Regions from separate parts of the Homo sapiens genome. Here all the other regions are linked to region 1. Evidence: promoter capture Hi-C in 16 types of primary human blood cells and fetal thymus (Javierre and others, 2016). All regions are on one chromosome and are shown on one strand. Each heading gives the region's core, a stretch centred on a gene start or on the middle of the fragment in contact. The rest is flanking DNA. Distances are from core to core; before and after follow the strand shown.

Region 1 (2,700 bases), core at 153-2,652:
TTGAGGCTGCAGGCTTGGTCAAGAGAAGCAGGACCCTGGTGCGAAGGGAAATGAGCCTGGACAGCATACTTGTCACCTGCCCCAGGACTAGTGCCCCTCCAAGCCAGAGAGCCCAGATAGCCCTCAGTGGGGCTGGTGAGAGTCACAGTTCTCCGCACGTGGCCAGGAAGTTGAGCAAGAGTAACCCAACCACATAAGGTATGGTGCAAACCTGGAAACTTCTGAGAGCAAAGGGATGCTCTTAGTTGTTAGGCGGGGGCCGCCCAGCAGAGCCAGGACGGTGGCGACCCTAGTCCAGAGCCTTCCACTTTAGCAAGGTAGAATCCAAGGGCCCCAGAAGGGAACAGACTCCATCTGGGTCGCCTAAGCAGGTGAGAGAGGAAAACCCAACCACAGTCGCGCCCCAGCCCTCGCAGGTCCCTGGCTGAGGACTCCCCTCTCCACCTCAGGCTGGGCGGCCCCCGCCTTCACGCTTGCTCCCACTTGTCCCTCGTTCTTGCTAGGCTTGGCAGGTATTTGTTCCCTGCTCCTTCACGCTCTCAGTGCCGTGGCCACGTCGCTGGGTACGCCCCACCAGGCAAGAGACATTTTCCGTCTTGTTCTCTGCCACGTCCCCAGAGCCTGGAACAGTGCTTGGCACAGAGTGGACGCTCATTCGTGGAGTAAGTGCCTGATGGATAATCCATCACTTGCTTTTCTAGTATGAATGGTCTATTTACGGGTCCAGCGCCCCTGCTGGCTTACGACCTTTTCCAGGGCGGGGAGGGGCTGTCCTCATCTCTGTGACCCCAGCGCCCAGCCCAAGGCCTGGCACAGAGTAAGTGCTCAACCACATTTTGGTGAATGAGTGAATGGAAGCGGCCCAGCAACCCTGAGCCAAGGAGCCACTGTGGGGCAGGTCAGGGCGGTTCCTGGCACAGGGCTTCCCACTAGCCTGGCCACCAGCTCTGCGGTCTCCTGGAAGCTGGGGGGCCTTTGGGTAAGGGAGAAGAGTGGCCAGGAGTTGTCTGCGTGTGCCCTGTGACGGTGGGATAGAGACAGCGATTGGATTGAGGAACGGGAGGTTCCCCGAGGCTGTTTAGAGAGGCGGGAGCGGGAGCTGGTCAGGGAGGCTGGACAGACCACCCGAGGGAGCGGAGCTTGGGCACGAAAGCCAAAACTGGGCGGCGCGGGGCGGGTGGGGAAGGCCGGCTGAGAAAGCCGGGATTGCCTCCTGGTGTCAAAGCTCGGAACTGCAGCAGGATCCTGGGGGCGGGGCTTGTGTTCAGCAGCACTCGCCACGCGCCCAGCCCTCAGCCCTCGTCTCGCCTTCTGCTGGCTGGCCCGGCGACGTTGTGCGCCAGCGTACGCGGGGCTCTGAGAACCCGGAAGTTACGTTTTAGGCCCGCGTCACGGGGGCGGGAGTCAGCTGAGCTGCCGGGGCGAGGTTGGGATCACCTGGCACCGGCTGAAGGGAGCCTGTGATTTTTTTGTAGCGGGGGCGGGGAGTAAGGTGCAAGACTGCGCCAGATTCAAGGACGAGGGCTGCCCGATTATCTCGCTGCATAAGGCAAGAGCAAGAGGATCCTCAGGATTTTAAAGAGGAGGCGACGGCTGCAGGTTCCCAGGATCTGTCAGAGGCTGGGGAGTTACAGCTTCCATTCTGGGGCGACGGGGACCCCGGGGGGGTAGCCCTTTTGTAATCCCCAGGCCCCGGACAAAGAGCCCAGAGGCCGGGCACCATGGCGTCCATCCTGGATGAGTACGAGAACTCGCTGTCCCGCTCGGCCGTCTTGCAGCCCGGCTGCCCTAGCGTGGGCATCCCCCACTCGGGTAAGGAAGAGGAGGGTGCCGCTGCCCCTTTCGGCTCTCCTAGCATTTGCGTGGGAGCAGCGAGGAGGGCAGCTCCAAGAGCTCGGGGTCATCCCCTGGGCCGTGCCTTCCGGGTCTAGGCCCCTGATTCTCCTCAGGCTCTCTTGGCCCCCAGCTGGTGGATAGTCGAAGTTTGAAAGAGCAACGGGAGCTGCCGCGTGATCTAGGCTCTACCGCTAGGGTCCTTTTGAGAGGGAATTGGGGCCCAGATAAGGAATTACTCACCTACAGGGCGCAGTTGGGCTGTTGGGAGAACTTAGAATGGGCTCCCGGCTTCTGCTGATGCTTTTCCCACCAGGCCCCTTCTGGAGGTGGGAGGGAAGGAATGGACAAAGAAAGTGGTGAAGGCGGAGTATTGCAGAGGAAGAAGGGAGGGTCCCAGAGGGAATTTTGTCGCTGAACGGGGAAAATGGAGATGAAATCTTTTTGGCCTTGGCTATAGCTGGGTGCAGCCTGGAGTTTGGGGACGTTTTTGTAGAAAGTAGTGAGTCTCCAGGAGAATGAGGGCATAGGGAGCCCTGGGGAACTGTTCCAGTGAGTGGAGTTAACGAATTGGAGCTGCTTTCACTCTAGTCTTTACCTTCATTCAATGCTCAAAATATCCCAGCACTTGCCAACTCTACACTGAGGCTCATTACCGCATGGGCAGGGAGGGGGGCAGAGAATGGGGCTATACTACTTCAGTTAAGCTGGGATTGCTGGGCCAAAGACCTGATAAGGGAGAATACCCAGACCACCAGTCCCGTCCCACCTCCACGCAGCCCCATTACCAGTGGGAGCAGGTATATCATGCTGTGACAGCATCTTAAGGGTTCAAAGAATCAACCCCTCACTGCTGTCAGAGTGTGG
Region 2 (2,700 bases), core at 71-2,570, 190 kb after region 1:
TTGCAGAGCCGAGATTACGCCACTGCACTCCAGCCTGGGCGACAAGAGTGAAACTTCATCTCAAAACAAAAAAATAAATAAAACAGTACAGTAGGTGAAGGGTAAGTCTTAGAAAACTGGGCTCATTGTCCACTGTCCCTATCTGGCCCTGAATTTGGCATCTATTTCTTACTGTCCAAAAAAAGCAAAACTGCAGTCAGCACCTACAAACAAACCAAGATGAATTAAAAGCTACTTTCTTTCTCTTTTGCTCATTCCTTTTTCTTGAGGAATAAGAGCCCAGAATAGAGGAAGACAGCTTAGAAGAAAAGAGAAAAAGGCCTGAGGAGGGCCTTACCAAAAGACTAAAAGCAGAATTGGTTTACTAGTCTAAAATCACCATCCTCAAAATTAAGTCTTTAAAAAAATTTCTGACGGTAGGAGATCAAGGCAGGCGGATCACTCGAAGCTCAGGAGTTTGAGACCAGCCTGGGCAATGTGGAGAAACCGCATCTCTACCAAAAAAAAAAAAAAAACAAAAAATTGACAGTGTCATTGGTTAGATGTACAATTTTCAAAATGCAAACGAATCTCTTCAAATGGCTGTAGTAATTAGGGTTTTCAAAATGTTATGCTTTTGCCCTACCTCCCGCATTTCCTCATCCAACTTCCGCTGCTCCAAAGCTTCCTTCTCTGCTCTCTTGCGGTGCTCCTTCTCTACTTTCTCATATTTCTTCCAGTACAGAAGCATCTCCTTGGTGAGGCGGCGGGCACGAGGCAAGGTTTCCTTACAGTTCTTCTGGGCCTGCAAGGCAGCTCGACGCACCTCCTTCATGCACTGGTGAGCAAGCTGAAAACAACAACAGCATTACAGCGGAAAGGACCCCATACCAGAAGCTGGTTCTTCCTGGACTCTAAACCACATCATTCCTCAATCTGTTCAGCCAAACTGTCATCCTTGACCACATCTTTCTCCTGCAACTTGATTAATGTCCTTGTACAGTACTGTGACATAGGCCCAGACCCTGTGGTATTATCAGGGATAAGAAATCTATCCAATTTCTATCACCTTAGAAGATGAAAAATTATAATGATGAAGAAGGACCTGGGATGTGCTTGGAAGTTACAAAATGTTATTGCACACATTAATAACAGCTATCACTGCTTATTACATCTTTAGCACCACTGAAAAATATATTAAACCAATTTACTCTTCACAAAAACCCTATGAAATTGGCATTACCATCACCCTCATTTATAAATGAGGAAACACAGTTGAATGACTACCCCAGAGAAACACAACTAATAACATGGCCTAATCTGATCCTCACAATTCTTAAAGGAAGTTGTTTTAGTCTCCTCTAAGGGAAGGTATTCACATCATTATTTCTTAGACGAGACTGAAGACAGGAAGATTCCATGATCTGCTCAAGAAATCAGGGTGGGCTATGGTCTTATCCAAAAAGGTTCAAATACCAGAAATGTGAGGAAGAACAATTTTATTTAATAAACAGATTGAGGCCGGGCGCGGTGGCTCATGCCTGTAATCCTAGCACTTTGGGAGGCTGAGGCAGGCAGATCACCTGAGGTCAGGAGTTCAAGACCAGCCTGGCCAACATGGTGAAACTGTCTCTACTAAAATACAAAAATTATAGGGCATGATGGCAGGTGCCTATAATCCCAGCTACTCGGGAGGCTGAGATGGGAGAATCGCTTGAACCTGGGAGACGGTGGTTGCAGTGAGCCAAGATCACTGCCACTGCACTCCAGCCTGGGTGGCTGAGACTCTGTCTCAAAAAATAAAAATAAAAAATAAACAGCTTGAGAACATTCAGAAACTCTCTTACGAACTATTAGATTCATGATCAACAGGTTACGACGGACAAGAGCAGCAAGATGGACCCCAAAGAAGAAGAATATATTCCAGCAAAACATGAAATGGAAAATACAAAACTACAATTTTACCTTTCGGCTATTGGTGAGAAACAGGTTACGAGCTGAAGCTTTCTGCTTATTTGCCTAAAATATTTAAAAAACAATATTTCATTTAGGATTCATTTTTGAACTAAGACTATGTAGAATGAACAGTCTTTTACTCAATTCCTAGAGGGTTAGAAAATGTCAAGCCAAGCAAGATATATTACTTCTATAAGTCATCCAGATGTATTGTCTCAACGCCATACATAAAACGATTAAAGAAGCATTCAAGAAGAATAAGTCAGCATTGTGGATGCCTTAAATAGTCTTCTGTATACTTTTGGGAAGATGTTAAGTTACATGTAAGGCTTGAAGTGGACTAGAAAAATGTTACAATACCTAAACCTTAGCACTATCCTGATTAAAAACATGTTGCTTACCAGGGCCAATCTGCAAGGCTGAGAGAGCAGGGCATCCAGATACAGGAATCATTAGGAGAAAGATAAACTAGTCTCCTAAGTGTGATTCTAGCCCCACCTCCAGCCTAGGCAAACCTGATGTCACTATTACTCAGTTTCTGCCACCACATAAGCCTAATCTTCTCTAAAACTAAACTCCAAGGAAGACCTAACACAAAATGACCCAGCAGCCCACAACCCAGCTATTTGTGTTTTCCACTCTAGCTAAGGGGAAAAACAAAAGTCAGTACAGAAACCTGACTCCCCATGATGTCTATTTGACATGGAAGAAGATGCTGAAGAGGCAGAGCTGGGTGGCTCTTTCAGTACTGAAGAGTACTCTCCT
Region 3 (2,700 bases), core at 115-2,614, 130 kb after region 1:
GGAAATGGCTGTCAGGTTTTGGTACACATAAGGACCTCCTTTGAAGCGGACCAAAAGTGTAGATTTTGAACCAGAAGAACTGAGGGAGGGGCCAATAGACCTATGTTTTTGACAAGCACCCCAGCGTCCCAAGTTGAACCTTGAGAAATACTGCCTTGAGACATATGAACAGCTGACCATGGGCTGTAGGTGCCTCTGGAGGGTACCAACGTGACAGAAAGAGCATCATTTACCAATAACCAGAGAGTACTCTGGCTTGCAGATGAAGCTGAACTGAGTTTGCTAGGGAGCAGTGCCATCTATGGTCCAGATGCAAAACTACAGAGGGTCACAGCAAACTGGGCCTGGAGTTCCAAAACCAGTTCACAACAAAAATAGTTTATCCAAACAATACTAGAATCTCATATCACCTTTATCCTCTCCAAAAGGAACTTGTTTTCGGCTGAGCATGGTGGCTCACACCTGTAATCCCAGCACTTTGGAAGGCTGAGGTGGCAGATCGCCTAAGGTCAGGAGTTCAAGACTAGCCTGGCCAAGATGGCAAAACCCCATCTCTACAAAAAATACAAAAATTAGCCTGGCATGGTGGCGTTCACCTCTAATCCCAGATAGTTGGGAGGCTGAGGCACAAGAATGGCTTGAACCTAGGAGGCAGATGTTGCAATGAGCCAAGACTGTGCCACTGCACTCCAGCCTGGGCAACAGGGTGACAGACTGTCTCAAAAAAAAAAAAAAAAAAGTTAAAAAAAGAAGGAACTTGTTTTCTTGCTTCCAACTTATTCATTTTTCCCACTAATACATGAGCATGGGCAAATAAATATGGACCAAAAGAAAGCAAATAAATACAGGAATACAAAGCAGGTGGATGAAAATTGGGTCTCTCTCCCTTCTATGACTTGACATGGCAGTATCCCAGCAGATCGTGGGTCAGAGCAAACATCTCCCATGTAGGATGTGTGTCGCAGACCTGCAAAATTAATAGCAGCTATACTTCTATAAAAAGTTTAAAAAGTAAGTCTAGACTATAGAAATATGACCAGTTCTATATGTCTTGAACAGCATGCATACTCTTAGATAAGTAAAGCATATTTAGTCTTCTCTAGTAAGACTAAAGCGCGGTGGCTCACACCTGTAATCCCAGCAGTTTGGGAGGCCGAGGTGGGTGAATCACCTGAGGTCAGGAGTTCGAGACTGGCCTGGCCAACATGGTGAAACCCCGTCTCTACTAAAAATACAAAAATTAGCTGGGCATGGTGGTGCCTGCCTGTAATCTCTGCTACTCTGGAGGCTGAGGTGGGAGAATCACTTGAATCCAAGAGGTGGAGGTTACAGTGAGCTGAGATTGCACCACTGCACTCCAGCCTGGGTGACAGAGTGAGACTCTGTCTCAAAAAAAAAAAAAAACAAAACAAAACGAAAAAAAGAAACAAAAAAAAACAACAAAAAAACCTCATACAGACCAATTTTTATACTCACAGATAACCGTTTTGATTTAAAAATTTTTATTTATTTATTTATTTTGTAAAAAAGCAGAACTTATATTGGAATTATACATAAAGACTCTGGGCTCATAGTCTCGAGATGAAAAGCCAAAAGCTAGAATCTCAGCATGAAAGAACAGAGAAACAGGAAAAATGGTTTTTCTGCCTGGGATTCATTTCTAGGCACTCTTATAGTTTAAAAACAAAACAACTTTTTCCAGTTATAAACTTTCATCTATTTTTCAATTTTCATTTTGATGATACCCTTCCAGGTCTAGGATTGAATGCTTAAGAGGTTTGCAAGACACTGTTCTTAGTGAAATATTTTTCAGTGTTTTGAGAGGCTTCTTTGGCCAGGAGCCCAGGATCAAGATATTAATATATTCAGAATCATACAATGTCATGTTGTAAGTATGTAAGCAATGTACTTATGAGGTCCAAAAGAGGGCAAAAATGTCCAATATACTTAGAGTAAATCCTGCTTTCTAAGTCAGCTGTATCCCAGACAGCCTCCCCCTATTCTGCTAACCCCAAGTGACCTCCCGATTTGATCAGAAGGAGAGATGAAGCATGACGTACCGTTCTTCCCTCCCCACAAAAAATGCATACTCTCCCTCGTCCTACAGGAGCTAACCCCTTTCTTGCTTCATTAACCTCTGAAACTACAGTACCTTCAGGGGCTGCCCCCTTAAGCGTTCAGCGCGTCCTTCCTGAGGACACGTATGTTCCTGCTCTAGCTGAAGGAAGCGTAACCGCTCCAAGCGCTGCAGTATTTTGGTAAGAATAATTCCTAAGGCCTTAATTTATTAACCCTGCAGAATTATTTCCTCAGCTAATGATAAAACAGCTCCTATAATTCCTTCCATAGTGGCACAGTTCTTCCTGAACTAACCCTCAAGTTTTCATAGCATGTGTCAGAGAAATTAATTTGCCTAATTCAAGGCCAGGGTTGGCTTCAAAGGACATCAGTTTCTCTCTCCCCAATACAGATGGGTTAGAAGTCAATATAAGATATAATTAGGGTATCTCATGAAATTTTGCCTTATTCACTGATCTGAATCCCTAGGACTGATCTGAAAGGTAAAAGTTGTAGATCTGTGTATGAAATAGAGATATCTAAACTCTTCTTCCTGTCCTCCTAATAATCACGGTGTAATTACTCCCATTTTCAGGTTTAGCACATACTATGTAAAGAAACTCTACAAACATGGGAGGGGCC
Region 4 (2,700 bases), core at 194-2,693, 200 kb after region 1:
AAATACTTAAAGGGTTACACGAAGACTAAATAATGACATAATTTAGACTAATAAGCCCACCAAATGACATAAATACTCAATAAACCATAAATTATTGTTATGATTTTTTTCAGACGGAGTTTCGCTCTTGCAGTAGGGTGATCTCAGCTCACTGCAACCTCTGCCTCACAGGTTCAAGTGATTCTCCTGCCTCAGGCTCCCAAGTAGCTGGGATTACAGGCGTCCACCACCACACCTAGCTAATTTGTTGTATTTTTAGTAGAGATGGGGTTTCACCATGTTGGTCAGGCTGGTCTGGAACTCCTGACCTCAGGTGATCCACCAGTCCCAACCTCCCAAAGTGCTACGATTACAGGCATGAGCCACTGTACCCAGCCTAAAATACAAAAATACTAAAAATACAAAAATTAGCTGGGCATGGTGGCAGGCGTCTGTAATCCCACCTACTCAGGAGACTGAGGCAGGAGAATCACTTGAACCTGGGAGGCAGAAGTTGCAGTGAGCCGAGACTGTGCCACTGCACTCCAGGCTGGGCAACGAGAGCAAAACCCCATCTCAAAAAACAACAACAACAACAACAACTAAATGAAATGATAAGTTTTTTTGTTTATTTGTGGCGGTTTTTTTGTATTTTTAGTAGAGACAGGGTTTCACCGTGTTGGCCAGAATGGTCTTGATCTCCTGACCTTGTGATCCGCCTGTCTCAGCCTCCCAAAGTGCAGGGATTACAGGCGTGAGCCACCACGCCCGGCCAACTAAGTGATAAGCTTTAAAGGCAATCATACATCTTTGAGTTGTCTTCTCTTTTTTTTACAATTTTCTAATATAACTTTCCTATCTAAAACAGTGTAACTTCTAGAAAAACCAGGAGAAAATCTTCATGACTGACCATAAAAAATTCTAGATATGCAATCAAAAGCACAAAAGATCAAAAATTAGCCCATGCGAATTAAAAATGTTTACACTTTAAAATATATCATTAAGAAAATGAAGACAAACTAGGCACAGTGGCTCATGCCTGTAATCCCAGCACTCTGGGAGACTGAAGTGGGAGGATCACTTCAGCCCAGGAAAACAAGATCAACCTGGGCAACACAGTGAGATCTCATCTCTTCAAAAGAATTTAAAATTAGCTGGGCATGGTGGCACAGGCCTCTGGACAAACTATTCGGGAGGCTGAAGTGGGAGGATCACTTACAGCCCAGGAGGTTGAGGCTACAGTGAGCCATGATCTTGCAACTGTACTCCAGCCTGGGTGACAAAAAAAAGAAAAAGAAAATGAAGACAAGCCACAGACTAGAAGATACTTGCAAATCATCTATCTGATAAAGGTCTTGTATCCACATATACAACTTTTTTTTTACACAGTTGTTTGTCAGTGTGTACACATAAAACCTACAACTCTATAAGATAAATAACCCAATTTAAAAATGAGCAAAAGATTTTGAACATTTTACCAACAAAGATGTATGACTAGCTAATAGACACATGAAAAAATGCTAAATATTAATAAATTAAAATTAAAGCACCATACTACTTCATACCCACTAGAATAATAAAAAAGACAGGCTAGACACAGTGGCTCTCACCTATAATCTCAACATTTAGGAGGCTGAAGTGGGTGGATCCCTTGAGCCCAGGAGTTTGAGACCAGCCTGGGCAACATAGCAGGACCGTGTCCCTACAAAAAATTTAAAAATTAGCCAAGTATGGTGATGCGTGCCTGTAGTGCCAGCTACTCAAGAGGCTGAGGTGAGAGGATTGCTTAAGCCCAGGAAGTCAAGGCTGCAGTGAGCTATCATTGTGCCACTGTGCTCCAGCCTGGAGTAAGACCCTGTCTCAAAAAAAAAAAAAAAAAAAAAAAAAAAAAACAAACACACACACACACACACAACAAGAGAGTGAGAGAGAGGGAAAGAAAAAGGGAAAAAAAAAATGTTCCAAACTCCCATTGTGGCGATAGTTCCACAATTCTGTAAATCTACCAAAAATATATTCAAAATATACTGAACTGTATATTTTATTTAAATTATGTGAATTTCATAGTTTGTAAATTGTCAGTCTTGGTAATATAAAGAAAAAAGAATGCTAAAAAATACTTTTGGCCAGGAGCAGTGGCTGAAGCTTGTAATCCCAGCACTTTGGGAGGTGAGGCAGGAGGAGAGCTTGAGCCCAAGAGTTCAAGACCAGCCTGAGTAACATGGCGAGACCTTGTCTCTACAAAAAAATTTAAAAATTAGCTGAGTGTAGTGGCATGCACCTGTAAACCCAGCCACTTGGGAGGCTGAGGAGGGAGGATGGTTTGAGCCCAGGAGGTTGAGACCTCAGTAAGTCATGAACGCACCACTGTACTCCAGCCTGCATAACAGAGTGAGACTATCCAAAAAAAAAAAAACTTTAAATTTCACCTTTTCAAAATGAGACCTAACGTGTACCCACCCACTCCAGAAGATTTCAAAGAAATTGGTTTTTAAAATACAACAAAACTCCCTTAAGAGAACAGCAAATAATTCATCTTGATACATGTATAAATGTAAAACTACTCTGCTTGGCTCCATCCCAAGCTTTTATTACAGAACAATTAATCCATGCTCTAGTTATTTTACCTGATAAGGAAAATGACACTAATTAAGGAGGTATGACTACCAAGTAATACGGAGTGATTCGAAATGAATGGAATATTTTCTTTTCTTTTTTTTT
Region 5 (2,700 bases), core at 135-2,634, 150 kb after region 1:
CTGGACTGGACTAACATTGGGAAAAGGCTGTTCTGAAGGTAGCCTAGAGCAATGAAAAAAGAAGCACCAGACAATTCCCAAAGATCACAGTCTACACTGGAGATTCATTCAATCGATAAGCACTTACGATATACAAATCCATGCCCTCCACGGACCTTTGAGGTCAAATAATTTAAAATAGTTTGAAAAACAATGTACAGCATGTAAAACACAGGAATATCTTCTGTAGTAAACACTGAGTCTCCACTCTACCACCATTCCCTACTCAAATAAACTGCTCACATCGGTGGTTTCCAAGGTAGGCACACGTAAACTTCACAATGTAAATATTAATATGTGAATACATGTATATAATTTAAAACAAAATAGCATACAGACATTGGAGAAATAGAGTACGAATGTTGTTATTACAGAGGAACATAATCAAAACATTTGGGGACTACTGACCTATACTACCTAGACTGCTAAAAAGAGGTGAGATTAAAATAAGATTTAGCCGAGTACACGGGCTCACAACTGTGATCGCAGCACTTTGGGAGACCAAGGTGGGAGAACTGCTTAAGCCTAGGAGTTCAAGACCAGCCTGGACACAACATAGTGAGACCCTGCTGCTACCAAAAAAAAAGGAAAGAAAATATGATAAAATAAAATTTATATGCCAATTCTAAAATTTACATGAATACACGAAGGGCTAAGAACAGCCAAAACAATACAGAAGAAATGCAAAGTCAGAGGATCTGTGCACCAGTTATCAAGACTTACCGTGAAGCTGTACTTATTAAGATAGAGTAGCACTGGTTCAAGGATAGTCAAATGGGTTCATGGAAGAGAACAGAGTTCAGAAACTGACCAACACATATATAGACACCTGCTTGACAAGTGATGCTACAGTCCAGTAAGAATGGTCTTTTCAATAAACGGGATATGGAGAGAAATAGAATTATCTTCGCGAATTTGTTGGAGGCAAAGAATTCTTCAACAGGACACAAAAATTATTCACTATTCATCAGAAGACAACATTGAGGCTGGGTGCAGTGGGTCATGCCTAAGTCCCAGCACTTTGGGAGGCTGAGGCCGGAGGATTGTTTGAGGCCAGAGTTCGAGGCCGGCCTGAACAACACAGCAAACCTAACCCTAACCTAACCCTAATCCTGAGCTACGACTGCATCAGTGCATTCCAGCCTGGGCAACAGAACAATTCAGATCCTGTTTCAAAAAAAAAAGGGTGGGCAGGGGAAGGTACCACTGAAAATGAGAAAGTTACAGAGTAGAAGATATTTGTAATATACAAAGAACTACAAATCATAAGAAAAATACAGTCAGCCCAATAGAAAAATAAACAAGAATTCTGAACAAACATTTCATAAAGGCAATTATCCAAATGGCCAATAAACACCAGAAAAGGTATTCAATATCATTTTCACAGGAGAAATTTAACTAAAGACATAATAAGACACCACTACCCAACAAAGTTTAAATGAAGAGACAGACAATGCCACATTCCTGCAAAGACGTAGAGGGTCTCACTCTGTCACTCTCCGAGGCTCAGAGTGCAGTGGTGGGATCACCGTTTATTGTAGCCTCAACCTCCTGGGCTCAGGCGATCCTTCCACCTCAGCCTTCCAATCCTCCCACCTCAGCCTCCCAAGTAGCTGGAACTACAGGTACACGGCATCATGCTTGGCTAATTTTTGTATTTTTCTGGTAGAGATGGGGTTTTGTCATGTTGGCCAGGCTGGTCTCTAACTCCTGGGCTCAAGCGATCATCCCGCCTCAGCCTCCCAAAGTGCTGGAATTACGGGAATGAGCCACGATGCCTAGCCTCTACATTGTTGTTAATTGTTACACCTGGAGCTTCTAGTTCTTTTTTTTTTTTTTCTTTCTTTTTTTGAGACGGAGTTTTGCTCCTGTTCCCCAGGCTGGAGTGTAATGGCGCGATCTTGGCTCATTGCAACCTCCACCTCCTGGGTTCAAGCAATTCTCCTGCCTCAGCCTCCCTAGTAGTTGGGATTACAGGCGCACACCGCCACGCCCAGCTAATTTTTGTATTTTTTTAGTAGAGACGGGGTTTCACTACATTGGCCAGGCTGGTCTTGAACTCCTGACCTCAGGTGCTCTGCCCGCCTTGGCCTCCCAAAGTACTGGGATTAACAGGCATGAGCCACTGTACCCAGCCGGCTTCTAGTTCTTTATTCAGAACCTAGGCTAACCTTTAAGAGTGGATAATATCTAACGATCATTTTGCTTGGCTGAAAGGAAAGATTTCCTTTTTTTTTTTTTTTTTTGAGGCAGGGTCTCGCTCTGTCACTGAGGCTGGAGTACAGTGGTGCACTCAGGGTTCACTGCAGCCTTGACATCCTGGGTTCAAGGGATTCTCCTGCCTCAGACTACTGAGTAGCTGGGACTACAGGCACCCACCACCATGCTTGGCTAATTTTTAATTTTTAATTTTTTTTTTTTTTTTGAGACAGAATCTTGCTCTGTTGCCCAGGCTGGAGTGCAGGTGCATGATCTCAGCTCACTGCAACTTCTGCCTCCGGGTTCAAGAGATTCTCCTACCTCAGGCTCCTGAGTAGCTGAGATTACAGGTATGTGCCACCACACCCGGCTAATTGTTTTTGTATTTTTAATAGAGACAGGGTTTCACCATTGGCCAAGCTAGTCTTGAATTCCTAACCTCAAGGGATCCGCCCACCTCAT

What was found. The method cuts DNA at HindIII sites, captures the fragments that hold promoters and counts their contacts. A CHiCAGO score of 5 or more calls a contact.
Region 2: a fragment that was not itself captured here is called in contact with the fragment with the promoter of VPS18 in region 1 in 9 of 17 cell types (M2 macrophages, total B cells, M0 macrophages and 6 more); the score reaches 8.5 in M2 macrophages.
Region 3: a contact is called between a fragment that was not itself captured here and the fragment with the promoter of VPS18 in region 1, in 16 of 17 cell types (megakaryocytes, endothelial precursors, naive CD4 T cells and 13 more). The highest score is 34.9, in megakaryocytes.
Region 4: a contact is called between a fragment that was not itself captured here and the fragment with the promoter of VPS18 in region 1, in 5 of 17 cell types (endothelial precursors, M2 macrophages, M1 macrophages and 2 more). The highest score is 6.4, in endothelial precursors.
Region 5: a fragment that was not itself captured here is called in contact with the fragment with the promoter of VPS18 in region 1 in 5 of 17 cell types (megakaryocytes, M0 macrophages, M2 macrophages and 2 more); the score reaches 10.1 in megakaryocytes.

The regions. Positions count from the first base shown.
Region 1 is chr15:40,893,048-40,895,747 of GRCh38, forward strand. VPS18 (VPS18 core subunit of CORVET and HOPS complexes) reads left to right here and starts at 1,403. Exons shown (of 5, transcript NM_020857.3): 1 at 1,403-1,812. The coding sequence starts at 1,722. RefSeq lists a silencer at 1,119-1,288 and an enhancer at 2,129-2,218. The HindIII fragment of the contact is 16,460 bases long and covers 1-2,700 here.
Region 2 is chr15:41,079,076-41,081,775 of GRCh38, forward strand. INO80 (INO80 complex ATPase subunit) reads right to left here. Exons shown (of 36, transcript NM_017553.3): 8 at 1,945-1,998; 9 at 626-829. Among named protein-coding and RNA genes, the nearest start is that of INO80, 36 kb to the right of the region's middle. The HindIII fragment of the contact is 1,319 bases long and covers 662-1,980 here.
Region 3 is chr15:41,022,380-41,025,079 of GRCh38, forward strand. All of the region lies in intron 25 of INO80 (INO80 complex ATPase subunit), which reads right to left. INO80-AS1 (INO80 antisense RNA 1) reads left to right here. Exons shown (of 5, transcript NR_170322.1): 4 at 2,108-2,258. Among named protein-coding and RNA genes, the nearest start is that of INO80-AS1, 6.9 kb to the left of the region's middle. The HindIII fragment of the contact is 2,745 bases long and covers 1-2,700 here.
Region 4 is chr15:41,097,397-41,100,096 of GRCh38, forward strand. All of the region lies in intron 1 of INO80 (INO80 complex ATPase subunit), which reads right to left. Among named protein-coding and RNA genes, the nearest start is that of INO80, 18 kb to the right of the region's middle. The HindIII fragment of the contact is 1,357 bases long and covers 766-2,122 here.
Region 5 is chr15:41,039,568-41,042,267 of GRCh38, forward strand. The region is part of intron 24 of INO80 (INO80 complex ATPase subunit); the gene reads right to left. Among named protein-coding and RNA genes, the nearest start is that of INO80-AS1, 24 kb to the left of the region's middle. The HindIII fragment of the contact is 3,915 bases long and covers 1-2,700 here.